Linked DNA regions of Homo sapiens: region 2 is linked to region 1. The links are contacts of gene promoters, found by promoter capture Hi-C in blood cells and fetal thymus (Javierre and others, 2016). All regions are on one chromosome and are shown on one strand. The core of a region is centred on a gene start or on the middle of the fragment in contact, and the rest is flanking DNA. Distances in the headings are between cores, read along the strand shown.

The links. The method cuts DNA at HindIII sites, captures the fragments that hold promoters and counts their contacts. A CHiCAGO score of 5 or more calls a contact.
Region 2: a contact is called between a fragment that was not itself captured here and the fragment with the promoter of CECR3 in region 1, in 8 of 17 cell types (non-activated CD4 T cells, monocytes, total B cells and 5 more). The highest score is 6.6, in non-activated CD4 T cells.

The regions. Positions count from the first base shown.
Region 1 is chr22:17,264,788-17,269,754 of GRCh38, forward strand. CECR3 (cat eye syndrome chromosome region, candidate 3) reads right to left here and starts at 1,946. Exons shown (of 3, transcript NR_038398.2): 1 at 1,736-1,946. RefSeq lists enhancers at 1-395, 4,716-4,967. The HindIII fragment of the contact is 21,393 bases long and covers 1-4,229 here.
Region 2 is chr22:17,221,025-17,226,135 of GRCh38, forward strand. It overlaps a transcript of ADA2 not described here. Among named protein-coding and RNA genes, the nearest start is that of ADA2, 4.1 kb to the left of the region's middle. The HindIII fragment of the contact is 1,511 bases long and covers 496-2,006 here.

The DNA.
Region 1 (4,967 bases), core at 696-3,195:
CAGGCAGCCCAGCCAGAGGTGAGCTGGGTCACAGGGGTGAGCTGCCAGGCCTGCTCACCCCTCTTCTTGGTGTGATCCCCTCAAGTCCAATCCCCAGGGACCTTCCCCAGGAATGCTGAGAGCACCAGCTGTCCCGGCCATGTCAGGCATCTGGCCACCAGGTCTCCTTCCACTCCAGGGGCAACCACCGCCAGAGGGAAAAACGGAAACACCAGGTTATTTGTGATCTGCATACTCACTCCTCGTTTAGAGAGACAAGCAGGAGGCCAGGGGAATAGATGGGACTGTGGGAACAGCCAAGGGCAGAGGGTGAAGGGCGGCGATCAGAAGGAAAGACGGAATGCCCACACATTCCCTGCCGCTCCCGGCTCCAGCCGTGGAGGAAGCGGGGCTCGGAGGACATTGCACCAGACAGGTCTTGTTTAGAAAATTGGAAAAGAACAAATATTGATTACAAGAGTGCAGGAGAATGGGCCCTTCCATCATCAAAAACAGGTATTCAGCCAGGCGAAGTGACTCACGCTTGTAATCCCAGCACTTTGGGAGGCAAAGGCAGGAGGATCGCTTGGGCCCAAGAGTTTGAGACCAGCCTGGGCAGCATGGTGAAACCCAGTCTCTACAAAAAATACCAAAAATTAGCTGGGTGTGGTGACGTGTCTGTGGTCCCAGCCATTCGGGTGGCTGAGGTGGGAGGATTGCTTGGGCCCGGGAGGTCGAACCATGTTCACACCATGGCATTCCAGCCTGGATGACAGAATGAGACCCTGTTTCTAATAATAACAGTAATAATAATAATAAAATACATACTCACTAGCTATGACTCTGCTTTACAGGATAATTGGGGCAAAAATGTTCTTGGGTGAAACTGGGTAACCTAATTTGAAAGGTCTGGGAAACATGGCCCAATTTCAGCCTCGCTCGCCACTCACAGGCCAAGTGGAGGTTGCGGTTCATAACATACTGGACACTAGACATCACTAATGCCTTCATTCTACAAATGGGAAAACCATGGCTGAGAGGTCACCTGATCTCCCAAGTTCACTCAGAGACGTGGGGATGGGCCGAGCTCCAGAGCCTGGGCCTTGCCCTGCTCCACCCCATACAGCACGAAGTTCCCTGGCCAACTAAGGAAGGAGTGCAAGGTGACTGAAGAAAACAAAAACAAACAGAACTGACACAAAAAACAAACAAACAAAACTGAGTGCCAAAGAAGGAGAATTTGGGGGCTGAGGCTGTGGCTGCAGAGTGGGAGTGGGGATAATCAACGCTGGGCTCCTGAGTGTCTCTGGAAGGGCGGGCCCTGGTGTCCAGAGCGCCTGGTGCCCACCTTCCCCTTTCCCCCAGGGCCCCTGTCTGAGAGCTCTTCTACCCACTCCTGGCTGCTGGGGCACCTGATATTTTCCAAAACACAATTTTCACACCCTTAATAGTGGGCTGCGGAGGAGTCAGGATCAGAGCCTCTAGCTCAGATTTCCTTCCCTGAAAGGATACGGTCTTAGAAACTGCATGCTGTGCAGAGTCCTATCATTCAGAAGAAACACAAAACCCAAGCCCTGGGGAGTCACGTGGCCACCACGGATGCCCCGGCCTCGGACTAAGCTAAGGGCATTAGCCCGGGTGGCCTGTAGCTGCTCTGCAGCTCTGATCAGTCCTACAGACACATGGCACCCCCCACCTGTCACCTTTAGGACCCTCCAGTCAGGCCCCCTTAAGATGCAGTGTTCCCCATGCTCACCTTTGAGGCTTACTCTGCTGCTAAGGAAACAGCATGCAACTTCCCAGGGTTATGAGAAATAATTTTCCTAGGAATGTCACCAGCTGCAGACGCCCCTGTCATAAACTGTCCCAGCTCTAAGCCGCCTAGGGCTTTTATCCCCTCCTCTTAGCTACTCATTACCCAGCTTAATTAGGCCAGGAAATGCTGGCGCTGAAGACACTCTCGGCAGGAGGCAGGGCTGGAGGAGAGATTCTCAGCAGCGCCACTTCCTGAGGCTTGATCTGGGGGCTGGGGAAGGCTGTGGAGGAGGTCGGCTGGGGATGGCAGGCTGCGTCCTCCAGTGAACAGCTGCTGGGAACGAAGCAGGGATGCACGCATTTGCTCCCCAGGCCCTCCAGGGAGCTGAGGGTTGCACTTGTTTACGGTAACAGCACCGGATCTGAAGGCCTTGGAAGGCTCTGCCTGCCCCCACCCCAACCCTCCCATCTCAATTAACCAGCTTCACCACCCCACCCCCACTCTTTCCTAGGGAAGAGGTTGAAACCTCAGTTACCACTCACAATATTTCAGCCCCAACCCTGACATAATCACAGTCAAAGACCCAGCCTGAGATGCCTTCCATTTTCAGCCAGCCCCTGACCTTCACCCTGAACCACCTTGGTCATGCACAACCTCCTGGTTCTTCACTAGGTGGAACACAGGAATGGGGTTGCCTGCTATAGAGCTGTATGTGCTTCACCCAGTTTTGGAGCTTTCTGCTCCAGTGGCGTTGGAAGGGGAGTAGCAATGTTGAGGGTTCATAGAATGGGGTTTATATCAGACAGATGGGGGTCTAGACTGTAGCTCTGCCCCAGGTCATTCTGTGACCTTGAATATGCTATTTCATTTTTCTGCACCTAAGTTTCTTTAGCTGCAAAAATGGGGGTGCTAATATCGGCTTCTTGGGAGGTTGAGATGATCTTATATCCTTATAGTAGACACAGGCAAATGTTCAGTAAGAAGTGGCCGGTATCTCCGATGTGGGGCACTAGTTCAGAGGCCTGCAGTTACCAACTTTTCTTTGCTGGGAGGTATGGAAAGGGGAAAACTAGTATTAATGAGATCCCGCTATCTGTGGAAGGTATTCATACTTACACGATTTTCCTTTCATTTCCCAATTATCTGTGGAGGCTTTGAGATTTAAATGAGTAAACTGAGGCTCGGAGAGGGTAGGAGGGTGAGTCATGCCTCATGAGTGGCAGAGCAGATCATACAACAGGGCTACGGCAGATGCCCAGGGCTGCTGAGTCTGGGACTGCTTCGTGGCCTGGAAATGTCAGAATGACACCAGTCTAGGCCAGGCGCAGTGGCTCAGGTCTGTAGTCCCAGGACTTGGGGAGGCCGAGGTGGGCGGATCACTTGAGGTCAGGAGTTCGAAACCAGCCTGGCCAATATGGTGAAACCCGTCTCTACTAAAAATTCAAAAATTAGCCAGTTGTGTTGTTGGGCGCCTATAGTCCCAGTACTCAGGAGCCTGAGGCACAAGAATCGCTTGGACCCGGAAGGCAGAGGCTGCAGTGAGCTGAGATCAAACCATTGCATTCCAGCCTGGGCGTCAGAGCGAGACTTATCTCAAACAAACAAACAAACAAAAGAATCACACCAGCCTAGAGCGAGTAGGATGACTAGAATCTCAGCAGCCACAGCACCAGGTGGATCATCGCCCTGGAGAGGGGAATATGAGGGCTGAGTCACAGTGTCATCCAAAAAGGACTTGTCAGCCTCTGCAGAGGCTGCCTCTCACCTGCGGAACACGTACCCACTGTGCTGTAAGTCCTGGAGCAATTTGCTTCAGCCTTCTCAGGTGTATGGTTTTATGCCTTGGCTTTTCCATTGTGTCCACATTTTCTCAGAAAATGCAAACTTCTTGAGAAGTGACCTCATTTCCCTCACCTGCAGCAAGACAAACGTAATTCTTGGCACTCAGATATGCAATAGTGCTGTGATTTTAACTTTTCTATGTAACTGTAACTTTGAAAAGTACTCTCCCATTCCACCAAGCAAAAAAAGAAAAAAAAAAAAAAGCCCCAGGGCAGGGGTGGAGGGATTGGGGCGTAAGGGGAACCTCCAATTCCATCCAGAGGAGGGCACTAGTCCATCTGCTCAGGCCCTCCACACATCGAGGTGCTCCTAGGTCCCCAAGAAAATCTCTTGATCCACCCAAAGAATCCCAAACTACTGACCATTGGTTTCCAAGGTCCATGAGTCATGACACTCTTAGACTTACTTAGCTGGTAAGATGCTTCTCATTTGAAAAACACAAAATCAAGAAAGCTCCTGGCTGAGCAGCTAGAGGCATAAGAAACCTTGGAATCCTAAACCATCAGGGTCTCTGGCTTTGTCAGTCTCTGTTGGGATCCTAGATAAGTGAAGTCAGGGGTAAAGAAAATAAATCGGCAGCTTCCCAGGGTGCTGGAAAGGCTGTCAGGCAGAACTTCCTTCCATGTGGCTCCAGGGAGCAGAACTTGGGTAAAGCTTCAGAAAGGCCGCTGTGGGCTTCACATGCAGCTGTTCCTAACCCCTGGGGCTGTCAGGAATTCTGTCTTGCTAAGGAAGGAAGGCCAGGCAGTGCAGGTGCAGGTGGGGGTTCTGGGGAGGTGGGTGCTGGGGGACTGTGCACCGAGGAAGATGTGGGGCCCTCAGGGTCACACCTCCCACCCCCAGAATTCTACAGACAAAGATGCTGTGATGTATAACTAGGAAAGGTGAAGGTGGGGGGACAGCCACTGAAACAGAGCCAGGATGTTGAGCTCTAACCCAGGGATTTTCCTCTCAACACCATCTGGGGCACGCTTTTAGAGCATCTCCCCTCCCCATTCACTCTACACCTCCTTTCCACCCACCGGGAGGCTCCATCTTCCTCAGTTGACTCCCACACAGAGGCAGAAGAAGGAGAAGCTGCCTCCACCCTGAGGAGCTTGGGGGCAAACATCTGCTCCCTACCATTGTTTCCCCTTATTTAGTGGGTGGGAAGGACCTGGCAGAGCTCTTCAGCCAAATCACACACCCAGGTGGCAGTTTGGTGAACCCTCCTCCAGGGTAACTGGGGAAAGCTGAAAATGCCTGTTGGCCTGACAGGGGTTTTCAGAGTGTCACTCCCATGCTGAGTGGGTGGGGCGGAGAGGTGACATTCACCCTCCTCGGCAGCACCCCTTATGTCCCTCGTGTGTTCTCCGGCTGCAGAGCCCAGTGAGGCTATGCAGTGACAGAT
Region 2 (5,111 bases), core at 1-2,500, 44 kb before region 1:
CCCAGCTACTTGGGAGGCTGAGGCAGGAGAATTGCTTGAACCCTGGAGGTGGAGGTTGCAGTGAGCTGAGATTGCACCATTGCACTCCAGTCTGGATGACAGAGTGAGATTTTGTCTCAAAAAAAAAAAAAAGAGTTTAACACTAATTTTTTGAAAGTTAGAGGAAGCAGAATGCACCGCAAGTAATAAGGAGAAACAAGATTGATTCCAGCGCCGCACAAAGGGAAACCACCAATTCTGAAAGTAAATCATGTGAAGGGTTTTTTGTGGGTTTTTTTTATACTTTAAGTTCTAGGGTACATGTGCACAATGTGCAGGTTTGATACATAGGTATACCTGTGCCATGTTGGTTTGCTGCACCCATCAACACATCATTTACATTAGGTATTTCTCCTAATGCTATCCCTCCCCCAGCCCCGACCCCCCCGACAGGCCCTGGTGTGTGATGTTCCCCTTGAAGGGTTTTTTTAAAGACCAGGTCAAAGCTAAAGATCAAGCTTTTCTTTCCAAACGCTTTAGCTAAAAGTAGGAGCTAATTTTCACATCTCCGAAGGTGGCTCCAGGACTCCAAGTCACACCTTGGCAAGGGTGTGGCAGCTGGCAGAGGACTGCAGGTCCTTGTCAGGCAGAACCTGCCGGGTTCTGGGGAGTGGAGACTCAGATCTTGAGGTGGAAGCAGAGACAAGAGCTGGGCACACTTACCTGGATGTGGGGTTGGGAGCGGTGAATCAGAGCCCAGTTAGATCCTGGAGGCTGGCAGCAGGCTCTGCAGAGGTGCAGGGGCACCTCATTCAGAAGGGGCCATTTATTGGCCCTCTGTGGCTAAAACCAGCTCCAAGCAGGACTTTTTATGGCTGGAGTCGCCTCCAAAGGGGCGTCGGCCTCCACTCAGGTGTGACTCTGAGCGTTGCCTAGCTGAAAAGGCGTGATGATAGGGAGCACACGTGAGGCCATTCGGGAAGAATATTTTGCCAAGTGCAGAGGCCGTAAAAACGTGGAACATGGCTCTGTTTTTTATGCTCTATTGAAAATGATCATCAGAAGCAGAAACTGGGCTTGTGTTCAGAACCTGAAAATCTGCAGGGCAGAAAAACAGGACAAAGGCATCTTTTAGTGACTGCAAAACTAAACCTCAACAGAAAGATGCCTGAAGAGACAGGTGGATTATGACCTCAGAATTGGAGACAGGAGAGGTTTTCAGAATTAAAGATCATCTATGGCTACACAAACATTTGAGAGGTATTTTCATTAAAACATCCCTTTCTTCACACCAATATCATGAATTATATGCTATGCACAACCTATAACAGAGTATAGCAGAGTTACCAGTGGTTTAAAGTGCTGCATATATGATTGTTATATGAGGTAAATAAGATTCTCTGACCCAGAGTTAAGAAAATGGAAATAATAATTGCTAAGGCATATTAAGAATTATATATGTATGTGTGTGTGTATATATATATATATATATATATATATATATATATATATATATATATAACATTTAATCCCTACAGCAATACATACCTATAAATGAGTATATACAAATATGTGTGTGTATGTGTGTGTGTGTATATATACTCATTTAATCCTTGCAGCAATCTTATAAGGTAGGGACTATTGCAATCCCCACTTGAGAGAGGCGTACCCTGAAGCACCTGGCAGTAAGGTAACTTGCCCAAGGTCACACAGCTAGTAACAAGCATAGCACGGCCTTGCAGGCCCAGGTGGGTTCCACCACACCGCTTTCCCTGGCAGCAAGAAAATGGAAGGTTTTTGAAGTAGTGGGGGAGTCACCGGGCACAAGGAAGCAGATCCCTGGAGGAACACACAATTAGCAAAAGTGGAGCCCAGGAATAGACGTTACCAGGCATAAGTGATTTTTCCAGACACTGGGAACTTGTGTTTTGAAACACCAAAGTATTTTTAGGAAGCAGAAAAGTTAGCTCTTTCATTGAACTGCTATGTGGTTTTGAAGAAAATGTCCTAATATCCATAAAACTCAAAGCTTTAATCTGCAAGAAGGAAAAAATGTCATGTGCCTCCTACTAAGTTTTTTTTTTCTAAGTAAGTTTTTTGTGTGTGTGTATGTATGAAATAATATATGTGAAAATTTTTTTTTGAGACAGAGTCTCGCTGTGTCACCTAGGCTGGAGTGCAGTGGCACAATCTTGGCTGTCTGCAGCCTCTGCCTCCCAGTCTCAAGCAATTCTCTGCCTCAGCCTCCCGAGTATCCAGGATTACAGGCACCTGCCACCATGCCTGGCTAATTTTTTTTTTGTATTTTTAGTAGAGACGGGGTTTCACCATCTTGGCCAGGCTGGTCTTGAACTCCTGACCTCGTGATCCACCTGCCTCAGTCTTCCAAGTGCTGGCATTACAGGCGTGAGCCACTGTGCCTGGCTGAAAATATTTTTAAAACTATAAAGCAACTATACAATTACACAGCATAAATGATTTTCATTTTTCTTTTTTTTTGAGAAGGAGTTTCACTCTTATTGCCCAGGCTGGAGTGCAGTGGCATGATCTCGGCTCACCACCACCTCCGCCTCCCGGGTTCAAGTGATTCTCCTGCCTCAGCCTCCCGAGTACCTGGGATTACAGGCATGTGCCACCACGCCTGGCTAATTTTTGTTTGTTTGTTTGTTTTGTTTTGTTTTGTTTAGTAGAGACGGGGTTTCTCCATGTTGGTCAGGCTGGTCTCCAACTCCCAACCTTAGGTGATCTGCCCGCCTCGGCCTCCCAAAGTGCTGGGATTACAGGTGTAAGCCACCGTGCCCAGCCCAGCATAAGTAATTTTCCTTGCACAAATCTTTCTAGTATTTTTTCTGGCTTCTTAGGGTGCAGTGAACATAATTTGATCTTTTTTGAGGACTTGGTATCATTATTATGAGCATTTATCATAATACTTTCTATTGCTATTGCATTATCACTCTATTTCCAATGCCAGTGAGGTGTGGAGCTTTGTTTGCCCCTGTCCTAAATGGCTTCAGACTGCTCTGCTTGTATGTATTTTTATATAATTTTTCTGTCCCTTCCTATGCAGTTCACTTGTCATTCTGGGTAGGTCTAAATTCCAGCAATCCTCTCCCTCTAATGCTTTACTTCTTGTGGTCTAGGGACTGAAGAACAAGATACTCCAACAGTACCAGTGAGAGCCCCTTCAATTGCTCTATGAGTTGGGGCATATTCACAAGTGCATGGATGGATTCTCAATTAGAGATTGCAGGCTGAACACATGAATTAACCTTAGTTCCTCTCCAAAACCTGCACTAAAATGACAGTGGGGAAAAAAATTAAGCATATATTCACAAGGTTGAAGAAAGCAAGAAAGGAGAAAATAGCAAAAAAAAACTTGGAAGATGGAAGGTACATAAACAAGTGCTAATAATTTAGAAGACAAAAAAACAAACAAACAAACAAAAAAAACAAACACTGAATCTGAAACCAGCAGTGACGAAAGAAACCTCGGATACCTGTGAAAGTGAGGCTGAAGGTAAGTCCAAAGCAGGAGAAATGGAGGAATGGCTGGAAAGCCTTTTTAACAAAAACCTAGAGCCACAGACATTCCTCCCACTCCCTCTTCAGCAGAGCAGTGAAGATTTGTTTTCAGGGAAAGGTAAAACAGAGTTTCTGGCCTAGTTAAGGATGGGGTTATCATACTAAAAATGAAGACTTTTTTTAAATTTTGCATATTGAACACTGAGTCTTCCAAGCCTTTCTCCCCTATTAGTCTCCCAAACATCAGCAACTTATATCCACAGTCAAGAAGAGGGAAAAGCCTTCTCTAGGGCTTTATCCAGCCTCACTGGAAAGACCTAATGATATTTAAAGGGATGTACCAGGTCACGATCTAGTAAAACTCATGGCAACATAGCTTCCTCCCTCCCTGCCCTTCCCACATACAAAGAGCTTATAACATCCTTTTAGTACCCTACTCTTAAATATAAGTAGACAGCCAAGAGTTACTACCTTTGAGAAATACTATTTTATGACAGAGAAAGAGCATCTCAGAAGAAAAAGAATAAGAGGGAGAAGAAAACTTTATCTAAGATTATTAGCCTTAGAGATATAAAAGATGTTATGCCCACAAAACAACAACAGGATTCTATAGAAAAGGAATAGGCAAAGAATGAAAAAGATGCTCTGGGGCCAGGCGCGGTGGCTCACACCTGTAATCCCAGCACTTTGGGAGGCTGAGGCGGGTGGATCACAGGGTCAGGAGATCAAGACCATCCTGGCTAACACGGTGAAACCCCGTCTCTACTAAAAACACAAAAAATTAGCCAGGCGTGGTGGCGGGCGCCTGTAGTCCCAGCTACCTGGGAGGCTGAGGCAGGAGAATGGCATGAACCCGGGAGGTGGAGCTTGCAGTGAGCTGAGATTATGCCACTGCACTCCAGCCTGGGCGACAGAGCGAGACTCTGTCTCAAAAAAAAAGAATGAAAAAGATGTTCTGGAAACAACAATAAGAGACTAAAAACGAAAAACAACAAAAGAGTTGAATGGTGGCTGGGCGCAGTGGCTCACACCTGTAATCCCAGCACTTGGGGAGGCCGAGGCAGGCTGATCAACTGGGGTAGGGAGTTCGAGGCCAGGCTGACCAACGTGGAGAAACCCCGTCTCTACTAAAAATACAAAAATTAGCCAGGCGTGGTGGCGCATACCTGTAATCCCAGCTACTTGGGAGGCTGAGGCAGGAGAATCGCTTGAACCCGGGAGGTGGAGGTTGTAGTGAGCCGAGATCATGCCATTGCACTTCAGCCTGGGCAACAAGCGTGAAACTCCATCTCAAAAAAAAAAAAAGGGTAGCCGGGCGCCGTGGCTCACGCCTGTAATCCCAACACTTTGGGAGGCCAAAGCGGGCAGATGACCTGAGGTCGGCAGTTTGAGATAGGCCTGGCCAATATGGTGACACCCCGTCTCTACCAAAAGTACAAAAATTAGCCGGGCGTGGTGGCTCGTGCCTGTAGTCTCAGCTACTCGGGAGACTGAGGCAGAAGAATCGCTTGAACCCAGGAGGTAGAGGTTGCAGTGAGCCAAGATGGTGCCACTGCACTCTAGCCTGGGTGACAGAGCAAGACTCTGTCTCAAAAAAAAAAGAGTTCAAT